Regions from separate parts of the Homo sapiens genome. Here regions 1, 2 and 3 are each linked to region 4. Evidence: promoter capture Hi-C in 16 types of primary human blood cells and fetal thymus (Javierre and others, 2016). All regions are on one chromosome and are shown on one strand. Each heading gives the region's core, a stretch centred on a gene start or on the middle of the fragment in contact. The rest is flanking DNA. Distances are from core to core; before and after follow the strand shown. Region 1 overlaps XXYLT1 (xyloside xylosyltransferase 1). Region 2 overlaps XXYLT1 (xyloside xylosyltransferase 1). Region 3 overlaps PPP1R2 (protein phosphatase 1 regulatory inhibitor subunit 2). Region 4 holds the start of TMEM44-AS1 (TMEM44 antisense RNA 1).

The links. The method cuts DNA at HindIII sites, captures the fragments that hold promoters and counts their contacts. A CHiCAGO score of 5 or more calls a contact.
Region 1: a contact is called between a fragment that was not itself captured here and the fragment with the promoter of TMEM44-AS1 in region 4, in 1 of 17 cell types (neutrophils). The highest score is 5.1, in neutrophils.
Region 2: a fragment that was not itself captured here is called in contact with the fragment with the promoter of TMEM44-AS1 in region 4 in 2 of 17 cell types (neutrophils and total CD8 T cells); the score reaches 9.1 in neutrophils.
Region 3: a contact is called between a fragment that was not itself captured here and the fragment with the promoter of TMEM44-AS1 in region 4, in 1 of 17 cell types (neutrophils). The highest score is 10.2, in neutrophils.

What each region holds. Positions count from the first base shown.
Region 1 is chr3:195,113,595-195,116,685 of GRCh38, forward strand. All of the region lies in intron 3 of XXYLT1 (xyloside xylosyltransferase 1), which reads right to left. Among named protein-coding and RNA genes, the nearest start is that of MIR3137, 19 kb to the right of the region's middle. The HindIII fragment of the contact is 354 bases long and covers 1,155-1,508 here.
Region 2 is chr3:195,253,486-195,256,482 of GRCh38, forward strand. All of the region lies in intron 1 of XXYLT1 (xyloside xylosyltransferase 1), which reads right to left. Among named protein-coding and RNA genes, the nearest start is that of XXYLT1, 16 kb to the right of the region's middle. RefSeq lists an enhancer at 69-856 and a silencer at 2,614-2,788. The HindIII fragment of the contact is 1,087 bases long and covers 900-1,986 here.
Region 3 is chr3:195,538,978-195,542,312 of GRCh38, forward strand. All of the region lies in intron 1 of PPP1R2 (protein phosphatase 1 regulatory inhibitor subunit 2), which reads right to left. Among named protein-coding and RNA genes, the nearest start is that of PPP1R2, 2.7 kb to the right of the region's middle. RefSeq lists an enhancer at 1,317-1,426. The HindIII fragment of the contact is 4,001 bases long and covers 1-3,335 here.
Region 4 is chr3:194,582,482-194,585,517 of GRCh38, forward strand. TMEM44-AS1 (TMEM44 antisense RNA 1) reads left to right here and starts at 1,787. Exons shown (of 3, transcript NR_047575.1): 1 at 1,787-1,967. RefSeq lists enhancers at 1,053-1,718, 1,754-1,803 and a silencer at 1,304-1,563. The HindIII fragment of the contact is 5,912 bases long and covers 1-3,036 here.

The DNA.
Region 1 (3,091 bases), core at 82-2,581, 530 kb after region 4:
TTTTTCTCTTTAATCAGTTTTGGATTTCCCCTCTGTTTCATGAGCTTTTTGCTTTACTTTTTAGCCATTCATTCCACAAACACCTACTCGGAGCCAGGCCTGGGAATGCCGAGCTTGGCTGAGGGAGCCTGCACAGCACCCACAGGACCAGGCAAAGAGGCGGAAAGGGGTGTGGCCAGGAGAAAGGGTTGTGGCCAGGAGAAAAGGGTGGAAAGGAGCCCTGGGCATTCTGATAGTGCCAGAGGGTGCTCCTGAGGCCGGCGGGCAAAGAATGCTATGAAGAAGGGGTGTCTGAGTTGGCCATGAATGACAGAGAGGATTTCTCAAGGTAGAGATGGGTGAAGAGAAGTCCCTCCAGGTGGCAGGAACAGTGCAAGCAAAGATAAGCAGGTGAAAGCTTGGCACAGCATCTGGGAGCCATGAGTGCCCAATTTGGCTAGAGCGTACTGAGTCAGTGCCAGGTCACAAACGCCTTGAGTGCCAGACCCCTGGGTTGAAGATTCTGAATGCATTCCAAGATTCAATTAAGGAAGCAGGATGATCTGCCCATGATTTTGCCCACTTATGGTGGCAGCCAATCATCCTGCAACAACTGTGCCCCAGTCCACACGCTTCCAGGGAAAGCTGCATTGGGTGGCCCCCTTCTCGCTCCTCCACGTGAAGCCCTGAACTCAGCTGCCCAAATTTGTTTCTCCACAAAGTACAGCCACACCATTGCACCCAAAATGGAGGATCTGAGGGGCCAAGGAATGACTACTGCCTGGAGAGCCGGGAGACACGGAGCATCACCTTCCACCTGCGTTGAGCTTCTTTTCATTTCACTCCATGTACTAAATAAGCCATTTTGAGCACCTGCTCTGTGTACGGTCCTGTGCCTGGGTCCCATGAGACCCAAATCATTGTCATTTCTCTAGCACTTGAAACACATCTGTCCCCCTACACCCACAATCACATTATACAACCATGTCATCAACAAGTACATTTCTACTAAAAAGTTCCTGCTCATGACAGTGCTGGGAGGACATCTCTTTACACGTTTAATTACGAAGACCAGGACCAGACATGAAATCCTAATGACCCAAATGAACAGCACTTGATGTAGAAGGCAGCGCGGCTTTGCCCACATTCCCTGAACCTCTGTCAAGCTTGTGACAAGCTTTCGTCAATCAGACGAAACTAAGTGAAAAAGCAATCGCTTTTGGAGCACGCAGGAAGGTAGCAGTCTTACAGGCTTAGAAAACCAGGGAGGAGTGAAGCCGCTCAGTGGTCTCCCTGCCGGTGCAAGGAGGCTGCCACCTGCAGAAGGTGCTAACGCCAAGTGTGGGAAGACACCGGGGTCGGCCTGGGCGCAGTCACTCCTGGGTGGAGGCTGAGCTTGGGAGTGTGAATGCCGCAGGCCCCACCCGTTCCACTCGTCAAAATCGTACCTAGCTGAGGTTGCACAGTTGGCTCCTCCCAAACCTCCCGTTGATCCTCCTCCTATTGAGAGGTTGGAACGAGGGAAACTAAGCTTCCCAGATGCCCAAACGGCGAGAGCTCGGGACGTGAATCAGGTGCTGCGACTCGGGAACTAGTGTGCTCACATGAGACGTGCCCGGTGAGAATGTGGCTTCTGGCTGTCACTGCTGGTTAGACGGTCCCAGTCACCTTGAACCCAGGTCGTGCTGCCGCTTCCTGAGTACCAGAAAAGCAGGGCAGTGGTGGTGATTTCTGTCCAAACTCCATAATCCTCAGACCTCAACTTAGACTGTTCATCCTTCAGCCTCCTAGAGAGTCCAGGAATGGCTGTGGGCTGGCAACAGCTGCTTCTGAACTAGCCAGGAGTCCTTCAAAAGGCCCAGCCGGAAACCTGCCCCTTGAGCCCCTCCAACAATGTTGTAAGCACCTAATTCCAACAAGAAACTCCTTCTGCTTACACCACCTGGAGTGGTTTCTGCTTCCTACGCGATCCCTGGTTGATAAACCCTGCCTGGCAAACCGAGCACGCGTGAAGGCCTCAGGAGCCACAGTGGAAGTGGTTTGGAAAGCACAGCTATTTACAGGACGACTCCCTTCATCTGGTGCGGAGCAGTAACCCCCTCGTCTGGCTCCGGCAGCACACCGTGTGCGCTCTCACCTTTGAGCTGAGGTGTTCACGTCCGAGGTGGAGGAAGGAGGGCGGCAGGTGCAGGCCAGGACCGGACCTCGGTTATCTAGAGAGTAACTAACAGTGCTTTGTCAGAGGGCGAGAGGGTCTGATGGGGGCAGCTCTGTATGAAAACTGGAGGCGCTGAGGCTGTCCTCAGGCTCAGGAGACAAAGACCGAGGACAGGTGACAGGGACAGTGATAAGGAGCTGGGCCGCTCAGGAGATGGCAGGAAACTCAAGTCAGGCAGCTGAAGCATGCACTATTTGCCACAAACGGAGTCGGGCTATCTAAAACAGGTTGTTTACGTGGACTTGATGGGCCTATAAGACTCAGCGACAGGGAGAAGCAGCTGGATTGGGGTGTGTTGAGCTTTCCTGTCACCCAAGGCAGAGGGGCGCTGTGTTCTGGTAGGTGACATGCACTATGAGATCTCAAGAGCAAGAGAAAGAAGGCATGCCACCACGAGCGGTGGAATCTGCACCATGCTGGATCTACTGACACATCTAAAACATTCTCAACTGCAGCAACATTTCTGGGCAAGTAAGTTCTAAGCGTGTCTGTTTCCCCTCACAAATTCTAACCAGAATGCTTTAAGCCAATGCTTCTCCAATTTTAATGTTTCTGTGAATTATCTGGGGATCTCGTTAAAATGTAGATTCTGAGTCAGTAGGTCTGGGGTGGGGTCTGAGATTCTGTTTCTGGTCCATGAACTACACTTTGAGTAGTGAGACTTGAAGCTTCAGAAACATCAGTCAAGATCCAAACTATTTACAGGTGCACTGCCAAGTGCACATCAGCAAGAAGGGAGGGAACTTGGCCCAGGAAACACAAGAGAGAGACAGTAGAACCAATCCACAGGACAACTTATCAGCTCTCACCGGCTTGCAACTCTATTTCCTGCTCTCTCCCTCACCCTTACCCTGGGACGCTTGGGAGAATAAGATTTAATTTCCCATTTCTGGG
Region 2 (2,997 bases), core at 193-2,692, 670 kb after region 4:
CACATTTCTTTTTTTTTCTTTTTTTTTTTTTTTTTTGAGAAGGAGTTTTGTCTCCCAGGCTGGAGTGCAGTGTTGTGATTTTGGTTCACTGCAACCTCCGCCTCCTGGGTTCAGGCAATTCTCCTGCCTCAGCCTCTCGAGCAGCTGGGACTACAGGTGCCCACCACCACGCCTGGCCAATTTTTGTATTTTTAGTAGAGACGGGGTTTCACTATGTTGGCCAGGCTGGTCTCGAACTCCTGACCTCAGGTGATCCGCCCGCCTCGGCCTCCCAAAGTTCTAGGATTACAGGCGTGAGCCACCGCGCCCGGCCTGTTCACATTTCTGATCAAAGCGAAAGCCACTCAGTCACTCAGTGAGCCCAAAGAAGAGACCAGTAAGCAGGGCCAGCCTACCTGGCAGTTTACATCCTCTGCAAACGCTGCTCAGCAAATTCAACTATGTAGCCAATCACTCTTCCCTCAAGTGAGTTTTAAAGGGTAACACCAGAGGGAAACGGTGCTCTCGGACAAGTCACGGGGGTGCCCACTGCCCAGCTGTGCACCAGGGGGCACCCCCACTGGGGTGGGGAGATTTCCCTCTCACATTTCCAGGCTGGAACAAGTCCCCCAAAGACCCCCATAAATCAGGCCCCAGGGGGCCCTCAGCGCTTGGAGACTCTGGCCACAGACGTCAGCAGTGACTGCCCAGGCCTGGCAGGTTCTCCAGGGCCTCAGCCCCAGGGCCTGGGACCAAAGCCCCACCCTGCACTGACCACAGGTTAAATTTGCCCTGAAACTGGGGTCAGCAGCAGAAACAACACGCCCCTCACCCTCCCAACCACAGGACGCAGGCTCGAAGCCTGACGAGGTGATTTTCAAAGTACCATCTGCTCCTGGGAAGCCATTCCCTGAGCCGGAAGCTTGTTCCTTTTCCCCTGTGAGGAAACTGGGGGCCACATGGCATCACACAGAGCCCTCTGCAGGCTCAGTCACCCTCTCACTCTTGCTCAGCACGTCCACGGGGCATAATTAAGTCTGTAGGCTGCGGGATCTCTGTGCCAAAACTGCTCTTTTGTTTCCCAAGGTGAAGCATCTGGAACCTGGGCATCCAGGCAACAGGCTCGCAAGGCCCAGATTCAGGGGCAGCCACCTGCGCCAGGCTGGGACCTGACACAGGGTGAGCAGGTGAGCCACTGAGCAGGACCATGAGGTGGCATGCTAAAGCTGGGCACAGCCACCAAGGGTGGGACACAGACCTGCAGGGCCTTCACGGGGCCAGGGCAGTGCCTAAGGGTCCACCTAGCACGCGTCAAGCACAAACAGCTGCGCTGTGCACATTCAGTCACTTAACGTCGCCCTCACACCAATGTTTTGGGGCAGGTGATAGGACTGGGCCCCTGCTACAGAGAGGAGGTGGTTCAGAGAATGTAAACAACTACCCCCCACCTCCCAGAAAGATGAGGTAGAGCCAGGATCTAAAGCGGCCCATCTGTAGCCAACACCATACTCATTCAAGAGACACACGCCCATTCCCACACCCGCTGCACAGGAAAGAGAAAGAAGTCAGACTCGGACCCTGTCCCCAACTGCCCCAGGCTGGGAAATTCACCAGCACTGCGGACAGAGCAGGGGATAACAGCAGCATCAGAAAGACCCATAAGGCCATAGGTTTGCAGAGGGAATGCAGTCCCTCAGCAAGGAGCTTCAGTCGGACTAAACCAGCAGAAAAGGCGGTTTCCGAGTACCATGCTCGCACAACAGGGAGCCGCCGACCAGGCCTGGAGATCCCTGTGACAGTCACGGCAGGACTGGGGCTGCAGGAGTGCAGAGCCAGGTGGGAGACAGCAGCGGGGTTCCCTACCCCACACGGCTCGCACCCACGAGCTCAGCCCCCAGCAGGACCCAGTCGGGCTGGGGACTCAGCTCCATCCAAGTGGGCTGAGCAGGGCCAGGCAATGGGTTGGAGGGAGCCATGACTCTGGGCCTGCAGCTGAGGAGGCTGCAAAGCTTCCTTCTGGAGCAGCCGATCAGTGGACGTGGAGCAAAGCCTTTCATTGTCCACAAAACACAGACGACTGCAGGGAGTCACAAGTGGGTGAGATCCAAAAGCTGTGTCAGGCTAGAAACCAAAACAGAAGACAAACCGGCGCACAGAGCAAGCACAGCGTAGAACTGGCTTCCGAACACAAGGGAAGGCAGGCAGGGAGACCATGAGTGCAGGGAACCAGAGAGGGCACAGGAGAGCTGCTCCCAGTCTCCCTTGTCCACTGAGCAGCTGTGTGGCCCTGAGCAAGTTGCTTGGCCTCTCTGGGCCCCCGTTTTCTCATGGATAACATGAATAGACTCAACTCCAGGACCAGAGTCTGGACTCCCTCCAACCCAGACCTCTTCTGCAGCTAAATGAGGGAGGTGGGGCTCCAACATCTCAGCCTGTAAATCCCACCTCCTAGAAAGAGGCTCCCTGCTGTTCTATGGGCAGCTCCTGGAGGAGGGAGGGAAGGTCCACCCCGGGCAGCCCTGGGATTCCCCTGTTCTGTGCCACCCAGCTGACCAGGGGAAGAGGCCACCCAGCCAGCAGCAGGCACAGGGGCACCGTGGGAACCCTTCTGGTGGGGCCCCAGCTCTCACAGAGCATTCCTGGCTTTGGAGGGACAAGAACAAACCGCCAAAATCAACAGGCATCGGGCAGAGTGCTGAAGAATCAGCAAGCCGGACTCCAATCATGGCTCCGAGCAAGCTCATCTGTGCAGCCTCTTCCTAGGGGAGACTAGCTACCCCTCACAGGCCTGGCTGCTCCAAGGTTAAATGAGGGAGGAAAAGCAGGATCCAGCATGGTGCCTGCCACCCAGGGTCTCCTGCGATGGTGGCAACTGTGGCTCATTGACGGTGACGATAAACCTGAGACAGCTCTGGTCATTCCAAGTCCCTCGCCCTCATGCTCCGCGCAGGCCTGAGGTGCGGCCCTGCACAGGGCAGGGCCCGAGAAACGAACCAGTACCTCCCAGAGGACGGAAGG
Region 3 (3,335 bases), core at 372-2,871, 960 kb after region 4:
TTCTCAAATGATAGGCTTTAGCAATATTTACTGTCATATTTTCAATAATTCCCAAAACACATTTTTTACATTTTCACATCTCTGAAAAAGAACATGTCTTAAAAGGATGGCATCTTATAATCATAGCTGGCAGTATTTTTTCTTCCTGGATAGTACATCTTAGAATCAACAGTGTCTTCTTTTCATTAAGATACACATATGTACTCACTAGGCCTGCTAAATTAGACCTTCATAAGTTGTGCCCTATATTCAAGGTATCCTGAAAGAATGGGAAGTCCACAATGATCGAAGATGACAGTGGTGTTTAAAACAGCTGAATGCTGTGGTGCAATGTACTGAGATTTATCTATACTTAGTTATGTGGATTTATGGATTCTATCCAGTTTTAATTTAACCCTCAAAAATTGGTATCTGACAAATGGTACCTGTAGAAACCACTCATTAAAGACATAAGTACTGGTGGGGCATGGTGGCTCTCACCTGTAATCCCAGCACTCTGGGAGGCAGGCAGATCACTTGAGCCCAGGAGTTTGAGACCAGCCTGAGCAATATACTAAAACCCCATCTCTACAAAAAATACAAAAATTAGCTGGGTGTGGTGGCCTGAGGTGGGACAATCATTTGAGAGCAGGAGATGGAGGCTGCAGTGCGCTGTGATCGTGCCACCGTACTCCAGCCCAGGTGGCAGAATGAGATCTTGTCTCAAAAATAAACAAAAAAAGACGTAAGCACTAATGCAAAGTATAAACAATAAGAAAATAACAGCACTGAGTCATCTAAAAAAATAAAACCCCCCTCAATGATGGTTTGATCGGTCCTGACAATTGGATAAAAAAATAGAAATGCTAGACTATCTGAATATGGCTTTATATAAACCTCACTTTAAGTGGACATTGAGTTTTGAGAATTATCTAATGATAGTAGTACATCCATATATGAATTACAGACATATATCTGAAGTATGTTTGAATTCTATTTTTAAAAATTCCTTGGTAATATTTACGTAAAATAACATCCTCTCACAACTGGGGGATGGGTAGGAGTCAAACTATCATCGCATTTTACACAACGAAGACACCTATAAAAGGTAGGGTTCATTCTCATTATTCTCTGATTCTTTCTTTGCAAGTTTACCTACTTGCTAAAATGTGTAATCCCAAAACTAGCATTTGAGGTCCGTTAGCAGTTGCTCACAGACAGCCACAGAGCAGGGCAGATTCTGAGTTGCCCAGTGCACCGTTCACAGCCGAGGTAGCATGTTCCCAGATGGGGTCAAACAAGGCGACGCTCTGCTTTCTTGTTTCAGCTCTTGTACTGTAAACAAGTGTCCTTTTCGTGGCCTATTTAGGGTCCTTTCCTGCATTTTTGTTGGTGAATCTGGTGTGTAAAATGGCTCCCAAGTGTAAAGGGCTATTTGGTATTGGCTGAATTTGTGGAGGGGGCCAACTGTATATTTATTGTTTCTGTTCAAAGAGGATCTCATAAAGTTTGCATGACTTGTGACAAATAATAATGTATATTTGGTATGGTTTGAACGTTTGTCCTCTCTGAAACTCACGTTGAAACTTGATCTCCAATGTGGCAGTGTGGAGAGGCACAGCTTTTAAAAGGTGACTGGGTCATGAGGGCTCTGCTCTGATGAATGGATTAATCTATTCACGGATTAATGGGTTATCAAGTGAGTGGTTCTGGTGGCTTTATAAGAAGAGGAAGAGAGACCTGAGCTGGCACGCTCAGCTTCCTTGCCATGTGATGCCCTGCACCACCTTGGAACTCCACAGAGTCCCCACCAGCAAAAACGCTCTCACCAGATGCACCCTTAAGACCCTGGACTTCCAAGCCTCCAGAACCGTAAGAAATAAATTCAGTTTCTTATAAATTATCATTTCAGACATTCTGTTATGACCAACAGAAAACAGACTAAGACTATATTGTATTACTAGTAGAATTAGTTTATTTGCTTTACAGTCACATAACAAGGATCATTAAAAAACCCATCCTTTTTACCACTTGGAACCAAACATCATGAACTTCAATGAATTAGGGTTTGATAGTTCTCTTTAAAGACAGGACTGTAACTCTAACTCGACAGGTCAGTCCCTTTTAAGTGAATCTACCCTGCCACAGATACTACAGAAGAGGCAGCCCTATGCAGTTGAGTCAGTCTAGTATAGTGGCTTTTGAGGCAGAAAGACCTGAATGTAAATCCCAACCAATTACAGAAAGAAAGAGGCCAATCCATAGATTGGGCCCACGGGAAATTACAGCAGATCCAAGTTAAGAATAAACAGAAACTAAAGAAGCAGAGATAAAGAGTAACTCACTTGGTAAATGGACCAAAAGAAACTCACACTGGAGAACAGCTAAATAACATAAATGCCAGTAAGGACCACATTCCTGCTGCTGAAAACCCTGAAGCTACATTTGAGCCTTCTGTAGTTACGTTACTTATCTTTTAATTCCTTTTCTTTTCTTTCCTTTTTTTTTTTTTTTTTTTTTTTAAGAGATGAGGTCTCATTATGTTGCCCAGGCTGGTCTCAAACTCCTGGGATCAAGCAATCCTCCCACCTTGGCCTCTCCAAGTGCTGAGATTACAGGCGTGAGCCACCACGCCTGGATGTTATTTATCTTTTAACTAACTTGGTTCTCCTGCTTCAGTTATGTTCTGGTGAAATTCTGTCTTCTTAATTCCATGACCTACACATCACACTCCCCCAGCACTCCATTTAACGTGGCTTAGCCCAAAGAAGTTGGAAAATTGTGTGTGAGAGAATGTAAGATTCAAGCATCCATGAGCGTGGGAGTTGCTAGACAAAAACTAAGGTCCTTTCCAGCCCCAAAAGGCCACGATTCTAACCTATGAACCTACTCAATATTTCCTTCAAGGTAACACAAATCCCTAAAATTTACCACCACCAAGCAGTAGTTCCTTTTATGGTCCTAAATAAGATCCTTTATCCAGGAATGCCCTAGGTTCCTATATTCTGAGATTTCACAAACATCCTCATTTTAGCTTCTGACTACCAATTTCAATGGTAACTTTTCTTAAGCCTTATTTTCAGAAAGTAGAGTCCTTCTATTTTTAGTATCTTGCAACGCCCAAGCCCCCGTGCACTTCTAACCCACTACAGATACTGTACTGCAACATTTTCTCCGTGCATAAACGCCTACCTTTCTTTTTTTAAAGGCTAGTATATTGTTCCATTATACAAACGTACCGTAATTAATATTTCACCAGCTCTTACTAATGGACTTCCGGTCGTTTCCAATTATATTATAAATATTACATACAATGCTCAGGTCAACAACTTTTTACATGTGTATCTTTAGCGTAT
Region 4 (3,036 bases), core at 537-3,036:
AATGGCCCTTTTCATCCATGGCCATGCTGTCCTTGGGAAAGATGGTGGTGGCCGCCGTGTATGACGTCCCTTGTTCCAGCTGTGGGTTTAGAGAATCCCTCAGATTTCCTCTGGAGATTCCAGGTGCCAAGACACCTGTAGGAGGAAGGCCGGAAGGGAAAGGTCAAGTCCGGAGCAGAGGCGTGGACCGCGGCAGGCTGCTGTTGGAGCGTGCTGGGCTCAGAAGCCGGGTTCTAGCTAGGAAACTGCGGAGTGGCCAAGGAGTTCCTGGCGCGAGGCACGCCACACAACCCTCGGATGCGAAGACGGTGACCATCCATTTCTCAATACGCCAGTGGCCCTGCCGTGCTACTGAGCCTCGTCAGCCTGTATAATGGAAGCTGAAGATGATGCAGCTCAGGAAAAGCAAGTATGATCTTAAGAACCCTGTAGCTGGAAAGCATGTTCCAAATCAAACCTAATGGAGACAACTACTAGAAGGTATAAAAGTTTTTTTTTTTTTTGAGACAGAATTTTGCTCCTGTTGCCTAGGCTGGAGTGCAGTGGCGCGGTCTCAGCTCACTGCAGCCTCTGCCTCGCCGGTTCAAACGATTCTCCTGCCTCAGCCTCCCAAGTAGCTGAGACTACAGGCGCCCACCACCACGCCCGGCTACTTTTTGTATTTTTGGTAGGGACGGGGTTTCACCATGTTGGCCAGACTGATCTCAAACTCCTGACCTCAGATGATCCGCCCGCCTCACCCTCCCAAAGTGTTGGGATTACAGGCGTGAGCCACCGCGCCCAGCCCAAAAGATTTTAAAAAGGAGTCTCTTGGAGGCAAAGGGACAGAACATTATTGTTTTTCATCATAAACCTTTTGGTGCAATCTGATTTTCTTTTTTTAAACCATGTACTTGCACTATTTTTATCTCAAAAAAGGTTTTTAATGCATTTAAAAACAAAGAAAAGAATGGTTTATAATACACCGTTAGGCTTCTGGGAGGTCTGAAACACACTATGAACCGTAAAATAACCTTGTAATTATCTCCTTAAAAACCGAGTGGGGTGGGCCAGGCGTGGTGGCTCACGCCTGTAATCCCAGCACTTTGGGAGGCCGAGGCGGGCGGATCACGAGGTCAGGAGTTCGAGACCAGCCTGACCAACATGGTGAAACTCCGTCTCCACTAAAAATACAAAAATTAGCCGGGCGTCGTGGCGCGCCCCTGTAGTCCCAGCTATTCAGTCGCAGAAGAATCGCTTGAATTCGGCAGGCGGAGGCTGCAGTCAGCAGAGACCGCGCCACTGCATTCCAGCCTGGGCGACAGAGACTCCGTCTCAAATAAACAAACCAAAACTGAACTACGGAGACGCCCTCGACAGTTCTTTCCCGGCTGCGTCGCCGCTGGCTGAGGTCAGAAACGCCGGCCTTCGGCTGCGGCGGCGGCTGCGGCGGCGGGGCGGGGCCGCGGGACTCTCGCTCCTCGCGGGAGGCGGTGGCTGCGGAGTGCGCACGCGCGGAACCGCAATTCCGTTCTTCCCGGAAGTGCCCTGCTGGTGCTGGGAGTAGGGCGCAAGATGTCGGCGGATGCAGCTCCGAGGAGGTAGGCAGTGGGAGCCGGCGTTCAGTCCGGCCCGTGCCAACAGTGGTTCCTCTCTCCCCCGTAGTTCGAGGAGACCACGCGCTGCCCCTCTGGCACGATCGTGGATGAACCCCCTGGCAACTGAAATGGGAAAGGCAGCGCCCCCGACTCTGGGGACTGGACCGAAGTCCACGGTAGTGACAGCTGCCAGACCCTGAGGAGAGGACGAGAAGACCCGAGGCCTCTGCTACGAACACTGGCAGCCGATGGAAAATTCAGACGGATTTGGGACAGTATGCAGAGTTCTCCAAGCGACAGATTAACAGAGGCTCTTGAAGAATAACTGCGTAATCACGTGTTCTGCTCAAAAGAAGGCCTGAATGCCCAGTGCCTTATTTGGCTTTCAGGGTTGGTGAAAGAAAAAGCAAAGTAGATGCTTTCTAATGCTAAGTCATTTAATGTAGCACCATTCCTTGAACTTCTTTCATCTCTAAGGTCGTCCCTTTCACCTGATGATGACCTTTGGGCCATCGTACAGGCATGTGTAAACTTGGAGATCTTCCTCAACATTGCACCATATCTTGGGTTCATTCAAGGCAGAGTCTCCTTGCAAAAGCATTCTAAAACAATGTAAAGTCGAAGAGAGTAGAGCAATACCTCCATAGTTGGAAAATGTGGAGGAGGCCAATTAAGGGACAGAAAAAGAAGTGCAGAGAATCTTGGAATTGTTGCAAAATTATTCTGGAGATATTTCTAAGTCTCCTCTATCCTTTTCCTTAGTGATTAATACAGGTTTTTATATTAAGTGGACAGTAAAATCCAAACAGAAAGAGGTATATGTCGTATAATGAAGCCTATGTTCAAAGTATATCTGAAATTTGTTTTTATAATGTCTTTCTTGAGAGCTTATAAAGATGTCAGTATTCTGTGGGAAACAAATTGGCACATGCATAAAAGAGAAAAAATGAAAAAAATCAGGCCCAACTTTCAGTTTACAGATGAGGAAACTGTGACATAGAAAAGGAAATGACAAAGATCACACTGAATCAGACCTGGGAACTGGAGCCCAGCCATGCTCCTTGGCCCAGTGCCTCTTCTTATTCTAGGAGCTCATACCCCTTTGAAAGAAACATAATATGAATGTGTCTTCAAATGATGCTCATAAATCTCTTCATCATACTGAGGGAGGGAGATAAGGGGATTAGTTCTTCAGGATCTAGACAGGCTTTCAAGAAAATCTTTAGCTGGGTGCGGTGGCTCATTCGTGTAATCCCAGCGCTTTGGGAGGCTGAGGCAGGTGGATCACCTGAGGTCAGGAGTTCCAGATCAGGCTGGCCAACAGCGTCTCTACTAAAAATACAAAAATTAGCCAGGCATGGTGGCGGGAGCCTGTAATCCCAGCTACTCGGGAGGCTGAGGCAGGAGAATCGCTTGAACCTGGGAGGCGGAGGTTGCAGTGAAGTGAGATCGTGCCATT